3 separate regions of the Homo sapiens genome follow, and regions 2 and 3 are each linked to region 1. The links are contacts of gene promoters, found by promoter capture Hi-C in human tissues and cell types (Jung and others, 2019). All regions are on one chromosome and are shown on one strand. The core of a region is centred on a gene start or on the middle of the fragment in contact, and the rest is flanking DNA. Distances in the headings are between cores, read along the strand shown. Region 1 holds the start of CCDC7 (coiled-coil domain containing 7). Region 2 has its middle 90 kb from the start of EPC1. Region 3 overlaps EPC1 (enhancer of polycomb 1).

Region 1 (3,606 bases), core at 626-3,125:
CATAAGTATTGTTTGTTTTCAAAGAATAATCGATTCATGTCACAGACTCAAACCACTGCAAAATTTGATATTACATGCTTAAATTTATTAACTTTTTAAACTTCTTTGCTTTACATTGTCAGCACTGATAACTTTTCTGTGGTTCTTAGCTGTGCTATTAAGGCCACAGATATGAATGGTGAACTTTTGGCTAGACTCATGCTGAGAGTTTTGCTAATGTATGCTAACTTGACAACTTGACCGTTAAGATTTTACCAACAAAATTAGAAATGACTAGATGTAATCTATTTTCAGGGTTCTAGAAAATAACTGAAATTGGCTTTGTCAAATCTAAGGTCTTCTTTAATCTCTCCTGACTTTTAGTTCTATCTTTCCTATCCCTTTCATTTACAACGGTTTTGGGAGATTTGGAATTTAGCAATTCAATTCTTTCTAAACTACTTTCTTAATTTTATTGCCAACTTTAAAAAATAAAAAATTGTTGGTGGAAAGCTTAATAAATCTGATCATTTATATGTACATTTTCTTTGTTACTGACATAAAACACACATACTGAAAAGTGCATAAATAAGCATATGCCTTCATGTTTTTTTTTTTTTTTCTTTTTTAGATGGAGTCTCGCTCTGTTGCCCAGGCTGGAGCGCAATGGCACAATCTCGGCTCACTGCAACCTCCACCTCCTGGGTTCAAGTGATTCTCCTGCCTCAGCCTCCTAAGTAGCTGGGATTACAGGCACCCGCCATCACGCCCGGCTAATTTTTGTATTTTTAGTAGAGATGGGGTTTCACCATGTTGGCCAGGCTAGTCTCGAACTCCTGACCTCGAGTGATGCACTGCCTCAGGCTCCCAAAGTGCTGGGATTACAGGTGCGAGCCACCACGCCCAGCCTGCCTTCATGAATTTTTGAACACACCCAGAAAGAGCAGAAGACAGAACATTTCTGGTACACCAGAAGATGTGTTGTTTTCCCTTTCCAGGCAACCCCAATGGTAACTCCTAGTGGTGTGATGGAGCTAGCCTACACCAGCTCTTGGGAGCTGATAAATTTTCAGGAATCTCTTGTGAGGCATTCAGATTTTACTGGAAAATTAGAAATAATTAGATATAATGAATTTTCAGAGTTTTAGAAAATAGTTGAAATCTACTAAGTCAAATCTAAGGTCTCCTTTAAACCTCCTGGTTTTTAGTTTTAGTTCCATCTTTCCTATTCCTTTCATTTACACACAGGCATTATTAACAGTTAAATTGTATCAATTAATATTTTAAAATATTAAAAACATTTTACTTCGTTCAACTTAAAGACAAAATTAATATATTTCTTGAGGTCAAATTATCTAAAAAACTCTACCTTGTAAAATTGCATCTTAAAGCAGTGCGTGGAAACTGATGGCAAGAAACCACTTAAGTGTCACAACTCTGCTTCAAGTTAATTCCTAGTCCATTTGATTTTGTTTTGCTTTTAAGATCACGAAGCTGGTGTACACTTCCGTGCGAGCTTAGAGTGGTAATGAACTCCACAATACACTGAAAAGAGCTTGAGGAGACAGCAGATGAAGGACTGGGGCTCTGGTTTTGTAGCTGAAGCCCAGGTTCTCAAAGGTCCTACCAGGCCTGTACTTTATTTCTCCTCCGCGGGCCTCTAGGCCAAATGCCTGGATGAATCTGCGCTCAGGGGGCGTCCTGGAATTACACTTGGGAGAGAATAAGAAAGGAGGAGGCCGATGTGCCCATGGACATTATTAACCTTCCGGCAAATCCCCACAGCCGCCAAACTGCGTCTCCTCTTCCGCTCTCGGCGCGCAGCTCACGCTCGCAGCGTCAGCGACGCCGGCGGCGCCAAGGCGTCGTGGCGTCGGGCGCCTGGGACGTGGCTTCAACGGCCCCATCCGGCGCCGGCGGCGGGTGCCCGGCGGTCTTTGCTGCCGCCCGGGGGCGCAGAGGCCGGGCCTTTTCTTTCAGCACAAACGTCAGTTTGTAAAAGGGAGGTGCTGGAGTCTGAGGAGTTTTCAGGCTTCCGTCTCGAAGGAAGTCTGGCAGGCTCGGAATTGTCATCTTCCTCAGGCAAATAGTTTTTCACCTTAGAGCCAGCAAGGCCAAACCGCCCAGTCACCCGACTTCCCACAGTCTCAGCAGGTACACAGGGCGGGGAGCCTCGGGAGCGGCTCCCTTAGCAGGACCTGAGGGTTTCGGGAGAGTCCTGGCTTTGCACTTAGTTTTCCCGCTGCCTGGCTGCCTCCGTGGCGGTTGTGCTGCTTTTTATGCAGGATGTAGGATCGAAGGCAAATCATCCTTTCCCTACGTCCCCTGCCAACCCCTGCCGCTCTCCTCTATTTTGTACACTTTATCATTAAAGGATTTGAAATGAATGTAAGTTAATCCTTGAAGGATGAAACCAGAAAACATTTGTCGTGGTGGCGGAAAGGGACGGATGCACTTGGGCGAAGTAATGCTGACATCCACTTCCTAGCATTGTTAGGAGGGATAAATGAATTAAATATGTAAAGTCCTTAAATATTTGCTTGCTAATACGAGTATTCATTGCGTGTGACTATTTTTGTATTTATGTGAACTTCATCGGAGCATTTGTCAGGTTCTTTTTTTTTGCACCAAGTGAGCGTTGCCTGCCTGCCTGCCTGCCTGCCTCCCTCCCTCCCTCCCTTCCTTCCTTCCCCTCTTCCCTTCCTCCCTCCCTCCCTCCCTCCCTCCCTCCCTCACACTTTTTTGGGGAGAGAGGACACAATGCAATCCATAACAGCATATACACTTGTTCTTTTTTCCATCGAACTTTCCTCTTGACCATGTTTTCTTCTAGTAATACTGTATTTCTTTACTCCCTTTTATAGTAAAATTTCTCTACAGTGCTTATATTCAATTCATTGTTCCTACTTCCTCTCTTTTGAACGGTAAGTCAGATATTTACCTCGATCATTCTACTGAAATTGTTGCCGTTCTTCAGGTTACAAATGACCTACCTCCATGTTGCCAAATCCAGTGTCAGCTTAGTCTTCATTTTACTTGACTCAGCATTTGACGTAGTTCATCACTCGGTCCTTGGTGATATTTTCTTTTCCTTGCTTTCTATGTATATATAACCTTTTGGTTTTACTTATTGGCTCATTGGCCACTCTTCTTACGTCCTGTTTCCTGGTCCTGATGGTTTTGATGGAATTTTTGATGTTTGCTTGGACCTGAAGGTTTTGATGGAGTTTCTTTGGCAATGTAATTTATTCAGAATTCTTTTGAGGCTTTTCAATTTTGTAAATTTAATCTTGGTTTCTGCATCATTTTGCTTGTATCATTAATTTTTACTGAAAGCATCGTGTCACAATCGGCATGAGAAAAATGTAAAAGGGAGCAGGGCGCACAGTGGCTCAGGCGTGTAATCCCAGCACTTTGGGAGGCTGAGGTGGGAGGATCACCTGAGGTCAGAAGTTCGAGACCAGCTTGGCCAACGTGGTGAAACCCTGTCACTATTAAAAATACAAAAATTAGCCGGACGTGGCAGTGGGCACCTGTAATCCCAGCTACTTGGGAGGCTGAGGCAGGAGAATCGCTTGAACCTGGGAGGCAAAGTTTGCAGTGAGCAAGATTGTGCCATTGTACTCC
Region 2 (3,606 bases), core at 671-3,170, 190 kb before region 1:
GACCACACATGTGTGGGGCTAATTTTTAATTTTTCGTAGAGATGGGGGTCTCTCTATGTTGCCGAGTCTCCCACTTCAATTTCTTACACTTGTTTGAATCCAAGTGGTTCTCAAAAACTGTTCATAAGATTCACCTAGAGAGCTTGTTTTGCATGTTCACTCCCAGAGACACGGATTCTGTAGGGTTTGCATGATGTTAGGGGATATGCTTTTTTTTTTTTTTTTTAGACAGCATCTCATTCTGTCACCCAGGCTAGAGTGCAGTGGTGCCATCTTGGCTCACTGCAACCTCCACCTCCTGGGCTCAAGCGATTCTCCTGCCTCAGCCTCCTGAGTAGCTGGGCCCACAGTTGCATGTCACCACACTTGGCTAATTTTTTATTTTTAGTAGAGACGGGGTTTCACCTTGTTGGCCAGGCTGGTCTCCTGACCTCAGGTGATCCGCCTGCCTCGGCCTCCCAAAGTGCTGGGATTACAGGTGTGAGCCACCGCGCCCAGGTTTTTTTTTTTTTTTCTTTTAGATGGAATCCCACTCTGTTGCCCAGCCTGGTGTGCAGTGGCATGGTCTCAGCTCACTGCAACGTCCTCCTCCCAGGTTCAAGCGATTCTCCCACCTCAGCCTTCCTAGCTGGGATTACAGGCCCAAGCCACCACGCCCAGCTAATTTTGTATTTTTAGTAGAAACGGGGTTTCACCATGTTGGCCAGGCTGGTCTCGAACTCCTGACCTCAAGTGATCCTCCCACCTCGGCCTCCCAAAATGCTGGGATTACAGGCGTGAGCCACCGCACCCGGCCAGGATATGCATTTTTATCAGCGTGTCAAGTGATTCCTATGCGGGTGGTCGGAGGACCAGACTTTGAGAAACAGTGTCCAAAAGTGGCTGGCACAGCCTCAGTAAGCATTTGCCATGTGATCCATCTCTCCTTACACAAGGAAAAACTGTATCTATTGCTTAAAAACACTTTAAAGCATTCCAATCACATGGTGACGTTTCTAGAGATAGTCTATGTGTAGCCCTGTTCCCAATCTCTATCCCTCTTGATAACACAAGTGGAGGCAAAATGGTACACTCTGTTTTTGCACTTTGTCACCTAACTGGGCCTTTCATTGTCCACGATTTCTGGGCAGCTATGCGGTTTCGCTCGTTCCCAAAGATTGCCACTAGGCGGCACCAGTGACTTCCCCCATCACTAATCAAGTGGCCAAATTAGCAGGCAATTACCAAATGTTTAGCGAGAATGTAGAATGTTTTATCGGCCAGTTTACCACCTATGGTCTCAGAGATCTGGCTCTTTTTGCTTTTGATTACATTAGAATGAATTTCAGAGCCACTAACTTTGGGCCATCTCTCTATCTACATTAGAATGAATTCCAGAGCCACTAACTTTGGCCCGTCTCTCTATCATTAATATTTAAAGAGGTGTGTTTGCATGGAGATGTGGGATGTGTAGGCTTGGACCAGGCCCAGGGACTTCTGCTGGAGGGGGGTTTGGTCCAAGCTGTCCTGGGCAGAAAGGACAGCTATGAAAAATGCAGCAGACCTATAGAGGTCCAAACACAGAACTGTAGGCTTGACACTTCCCCCACCAGGTCTCTGTGATCCTTTTTACTTCCCTCTCCCCAAGCCTCTTGCTCCAAAAGAAGACAGTGAACAGTCCCAGTGTGGCGGTTCACACCTGTAATCCTAGCACTTGGGGAGGCCAGGGCAGGAGGATCGCCTGAGCCCAACAGTTCGAGACCAGTCCTGGCAACAAAAAATAAAAAAAATAAAAATCAGCCAGTCGTAATGGTGTGCACTTGTAGTCCCACCTATGCGGGAGGCTAGGGTGGGAGGATCACTCGAGCCTGGGAGTTCAAGGCTGCAGTGAGCTGTGGTTGTGTCGTGCCACTGCACTGCACTCCTGACTGGGTGACAGAGTGAGACCCATTCTTTCTCTCAAAAAAAAAAAAAAAAAAAAAAGACAGTGAACAGAAATAATACTCTTTTTTTTCTTTTTTTGAGACGGAGTTTCGCTCTTGTTGCCCAGGCTGGAGTGCAATGACACAATCTCAGCTCACCACAACCTCTGCCTCCCAGGTTCAAGCAGTTCTCCTGCCTCAGCCTCCCACGTAGCTGGGATTACAGGCATGCATGCACCACCACGCCCAGCTAATTTTGTACTTTTAGTAGAGACGGGGTTTCTCAGTGTTGGTCAGGCTGGTCTCAAACTCCCGACCTCAGGTGATCCACCCACCTCGGCCTCCCAAAATGCTGGCATTACAGGCGTGAGCCACCGCATCTAGCCAGAAATTTTTAACTGTGGTAAAATATATATGGCATAAAAGTTACATCTTTTTATATATATATATATTTATATATTTATTTATTTAGAGACACGATCTCGCTCTGTCACCAAGGCTGGAATACAGTGGTACCTTGAACTCTGGGACTCAAGTGATCCTCCTGCCCCAGCCTCCCGAGTAGCTGGGACTACAAGGCACACTACACCCAGCTAATTTTTTTATTTTTTGTACAGACAGGGTCTTGCTTTCTTGCAAGAGTCTGGTCTCAAACTCTTCAAGCAATCCTCCTGCCTCAGCCTCCCAAAGCACTCAATTACAGGCCCCAGCCACCGCATCCAGCCTTTCTTTATTTTTAACTGTGCAGTTCAGTAGTCCTAAGTATCTTCACATTGTTGTGCGACCAATGTCCGGAGTTCTTTTCATCTTGTAAAACTCCAGGCTGGAGTGCAGTGACTCGGCTCACCGCGCAACCTCTGCCTCCTGGGTTCAAGCAATTCTCCCACCTCAGTCTCCCAAGTATCTGGGAATACAAGCGCCCGCTACCGTGCCTGGCTAATTTTTTGTATTATTAGTAGAGACGGGGTTCCACCATATTGGTCAGGCTGGTCTCGAACTCCCAACCTCAGGTGATCTGCCCACTTTGGTCTCCCAAAGTGCTGGGATTACAGGTGTGAGCCACCGCGCCTGGCCTCCTCTTGTAAAACTGAATCACTATACCTATTAAATAACAATTTCCTATTTCCTCCTCCCTTGGTCCCTGGCGACCATCTTTCTGCTTTTTATTTGTATGAGTTTGAGTACTTTAGATACCTCAATATGTGGAATCATACCACATTTGTCTTTTTGTGACTTTTATTTCACTTAGCATAATGTCCTCAAGGTTCATCCATGTTGTAGCATGTGACAGGATTTCCCTGTTTTTTTGTTTTTTGTTTTCTGTTTTTTTTTTTTTTTTTTTTTTTGAGACGAAGTCTCGAACTTTCACCCAGGCTGGAGTGTAGTGGGGCGATCTCGGCTCACTGCAAGCTCCGCTTTAAAAGCTGAATAATATTCCATTGTATGTATACACCACATTTTCCTTGTTGATGGGCACTTTGTTTCTACCTTTTGGCTGTTGTGAATAATGCTGCTATGAATATAAATGTACAAATATCTCTTCAAGACCTTGCTTTCAATTCTTTGAGATGTATACTTAGAAGTGGAATCCCTAGGTCATATGGTAATTCTACTTTTTTTTTTTTTTTTTTGAGACAGAGTCTCGCTCTGTGCCCAGGCTGGAGTGCAGTGGCGAGATCTCGGCTCACTGCAAGCTCCGCCTCCC
Region 3 (3,606 bases), core at 470-2,969, 160 kb before region 1:
CATTCAACTTCCCCTACTCCAGGCTCACTCTGGAGAATATATTCTTTCAGTAAATTGTATTTAGAATTCTGTATAACATTTGAGCTGCTACATTTTCTCTTTTTTTTTTTTGAGATGGAGTCTCACTCTGTCGCCCAGGCTGGAATGCAATGGCACAATCTCGGCTCACTGCAACCTCTGACTCCCAGGTTCAAGCCATTCTCCCTGCCTCAGCTTCCTGAGTAGCTGGGATTACAGGCGCCTGCCATCATGCCCAGCTAATTTTTGTATTTTTTAGTAGAGACCAGGTTTCGCCATATTAGCCAGGCTAGTGTGGAACTCCTGACCTCAGGTGATCTGCCCGCCTCGGCCTCCCAAAGTACTGGGATTACAGGCATGAGCCACCACACTTGGCCTAAATTTTGTTTTTTTTTTCTTCAGGGGCCTGGAGTTGGATTAAGTGAAATGCACTTATGATATGGCTGCATTGTAATATACTTTATAAAGTATGCAGAGAAAAGCTTTAGGTCTCTGGAATATTCACAAATATAAATGAACAGTGTTACCCTACAGTAGTCTGTAGGTATCTATCCTCTAAGTATTAGAAGATCTAGCAAAATTTAAGGAGAAATTGAAAATAATTAAGACAACAGGAAAAAAAATAGATAAACTCATTTTTAAAAAGTAGTATTGAGGCTGGGTGCAGTGGCTCACCCCTGTAACCCTAGCACTTTGGGAGGCCAAGGCAGGAGGATCACTTGAGGCCAGGAGTTCAAGACTAGCCTGGGCAACATAGACCCTATCTCTTACAAAAAATTAGCCAGTCATGGTGGCATACGCCTGCAGTCCTAGCTACCCAGGAGGCTGAGGTTGGGGGATCACTGAGCCTGGGAAGTTGAGGCTGCAGTGAGCCATGACTGTGCCACTATACTCCAGTCTGGGTGACAGAGAAAGATCCTGTCTTAAATAAATAAATAAATAGTTGTATCGCATATATGGAGGAAAGAAATGATAAAGAAGAAAAATTACAAGGTTACTAATGATTTCTTTTCAGCTAAGCTTTTGGTAATGCTCATCTTTTAATGTTCTTTGGGCAAACACAAATCAAACAATTTTTACAACTGTTATTAATATGCCTAAAGCAGTATAGCAAAACATTTTTCATAAAAAAAGAGCATTATAAAATCCTTAAATATTTAGGATAGTTATACACTTCAACTTCTCTATTTAAGGGGTGGAGAAGATGGAGATTGATGGAACATGCCTATTTTCTGAGAAGTCTTAAAGAATTTTTACAGCTTAGAAAGCTTAATTATCAGGGTAACCTATGACAGGTTTATACTGTTAAAACCTCTATACTAACACTATAAGTAAGTCTTTATTGAAAAGTTCTTTATTTTGATTCTTAAGACTATAAAAGTAGAGAGAAACTGGCTTTTGGTGATAAAGACAGTAACATTAATGGGATTATAAATAAGCTGTTAGTCCCTAAAATAGCTTTATCTTCCAGCTGATTTCTGAATTGTGATTATTTTTCTCATGAGCTGAAAGACTTCCATTTCATAGAAGTACAGCTGACCCTTGAATAACATGGGTTTGAACTGCCTGGGTCTACTTATTTGTAAATTATCTTCTGCCTCTGTCACCTCTCAGATGACAAGACCAACCCCTCCTCCCCCTCAATGTGAAGATGACAAGGATAAAGACCTTTATGATGATCCACTTACACTTAATGATTAGTAAATGTATTTTCTCTCCTTTATGAATTTCTTTTTTTTTTGAAACAGGGTTTTGCTTTGCTGTGAAGCCTGGAATGCAGTGGCATGATCTTGGCTCACTGCAGCCTTGACCTTCTGGGCTCCTACCACCTCAGTCTCCTGAGTAGCTGAGACTACAGGCGCTCACCACCACACCCAGTGAATTTCTGCATTTTTTGTAGAGATGAGGTTTCACCATGTTGCCCAGGCTGGTCCTGAACTCCTGGGCTCAAGCAATCTGCCCACTTTAGCCTCCCAAAGTGCTGGGATTACAGGCATGAGCCACCATGCCTGGCTCTATAAATTTCTTAATAACATGTTCTTTTTCCTAGCTTATTTTAAGAATGAAGTACAGAATACATATAACATACAAAACATGTATGTTTGGACTGTTTATGTTAATGGACTAATGGACTGTTTATGTTATTGGTAATTCTGGTCAGGAGCAGACTATTAGTCAAGTTTTTGGGGAGTCAAAAGTTATACATGAATTTTGGACTGCAATTGGGGGGTGCCCCTAACCCTCATGTTGTTCAGGGGTCAACTGTACTTTTTTTTAACCACCAAGTAAATTAGTTTACGGAACATTTTCTGGAGGTCTTTAAGAATCAGAGCAAATGTTCATATTTATGAAGCAACTTAACTATAACCCTACAGGGTGAATTAGGGGAATGATAAATATCTTCATAGTCCTCAGATTACCTTTACAAAAATCAGTAGTAACATAATTCAATGGTGAATTTCTACAATATATAGGCTTCAAATAACACAAACTTATGCTTTAAAACAGACAGCTAAGATTATAGGAATATTTTAAATAAACAGCATTTATTTTAGACACATTTCAAATAGAAGCCACAATAATCAAATAGATATTATCTGAAAACGTTTCAAAAATATTAACCCTTTAAATGTTCTTCTCTGAAAAATTAGTTTATCTTTAACAAATTATTCTGAATTATTGTGTCAACATATAAGGTTATGCATATATATTCACTTGCTGGTCTCTATGTTAAAGCAAACTAGGTAAAAACTAGAGAAATATCTGAACATAAAATGGTTAACAATTTACGGCCCATTTTCTTCTCATATTATTGAAAAATATGATAAATCTTGTGGTTCACGGACTATATCCAGGAAACAAATGTCACATATTAAATAGAAATAAACCATCTTTGTATGCAGGTATGTTTAAATGAAGACACACACATACAAACTCCTATAGCAACAGGATTCAAATAAATACTTAGACCAAGATTTTTTTTTTAACTGTTTAAGAGAAAAGGACTTTAAGCCATAAATGTAACAGACCACATAGTCGAACAAATGGGAAATGGTTGGACCTGACATTTCTATAGAAACGTACATCATTAACAGTCAACATACCAAAGTGTGCTGAACCACTGCTACTTTTACTTTGCGTAGAGGTACTGCATGTCTGGGTCCCAGGTTGTGCTGTTCCTGTTCGGTTTATACTCCTATATAATTTTCTACAGGAGAGTTCATCATTGTCACTGTCATGTAGGGATGGTGTCCGAGGCCTAAAATGCCGCCATCTACATGATTTGATATTGACTAGTATCTGACTGAGGTCTTTAGAGAAAGATTTGTCCGAGGTATTTGTTTCTGAGGTATTGGCAAACTGATTGACTGGAGAATGTTGTGGTGAGGAAAGCATTTCCAAATCCAGATGGTGAAACACACTGTCATAGTCTGAATGAGCTCTGTCCAGTAAGACCCTATTAAAAAATCAGACAAGAAACAGTTATTTAAAATAGCTATTCAAAGATTATATATTAAAGCTTTTTCTTTTTACCCCCAACTGCCAAAAGGCCAACTCATACTGAATATTTAAAAGCTTTAAAGTTGA

What was found. Contacts are between HindIII fragments. The study calls those that stand out against the background at their distance.
Region 2: a contact is called between a fragment that was not itself captured here and the fragment with the promoter of CCDC7 in region 1, in 1 of the 25 tissues and cell types used here (H1 embryonic stem cells).
Region 3: a contact is called between a fragment that was not itself captured here and the fragment with the promoter of CCDC7 in region 1, in 1 of the 25 tissues and cell types used here (hippocampus).

Annotation. Positions count from the first base shown.
Region 1 is chr10:32,444,265-32,447,870 of GRCh38, forward strand. It overlaps CCDC7 (coiled-coil domain containing 7), which reads left to right and starts at 1,876. Exons shown (of 44, transcript NM_001395015.1): 1 at 1,876-2,133. It overlaps LOC101929431 (a long non-coding RNA gene), which reads right to left and starts at 1,792. Exons shown (of 3, transcript NR_120660.1): 1 at 1,349-1,792. RefSeq lists an enhancer at 1,427-1,746 and a silencer at 1,817-2,046. The HindIII fragment of the contact is 7,178 bases long and covers 1-3,606 here.
Region 2 is chr10:32,255,677-32,259,282 of GRCh38, forward strand. No RefSeq gene overlaps it. Among named protein-coding and RNA genes, the nearest start is that of EPC1, 90 kb to the right of the region's middle. RefSeq lists a silencer at 1,062-1,181. The HindIII fragment of the contact is 4,191 bases long and covers 1-3,606 here.
Region 3 is chr10:32,281,576-32,285,181 of GRCh38, forward strand. EPC1 (enhancer of polycomb 1) reads right to left here. Exons shown (of 14, transcript NM_001272004.3): 10 at 3,123-3,475. Among named protein-coding and RNA genes, the nearest start is that of EPC1, 64 kb to the right of the region's middle. The HindIII fragment of the contact is 3,694 bases long and covers 1-3,566 here.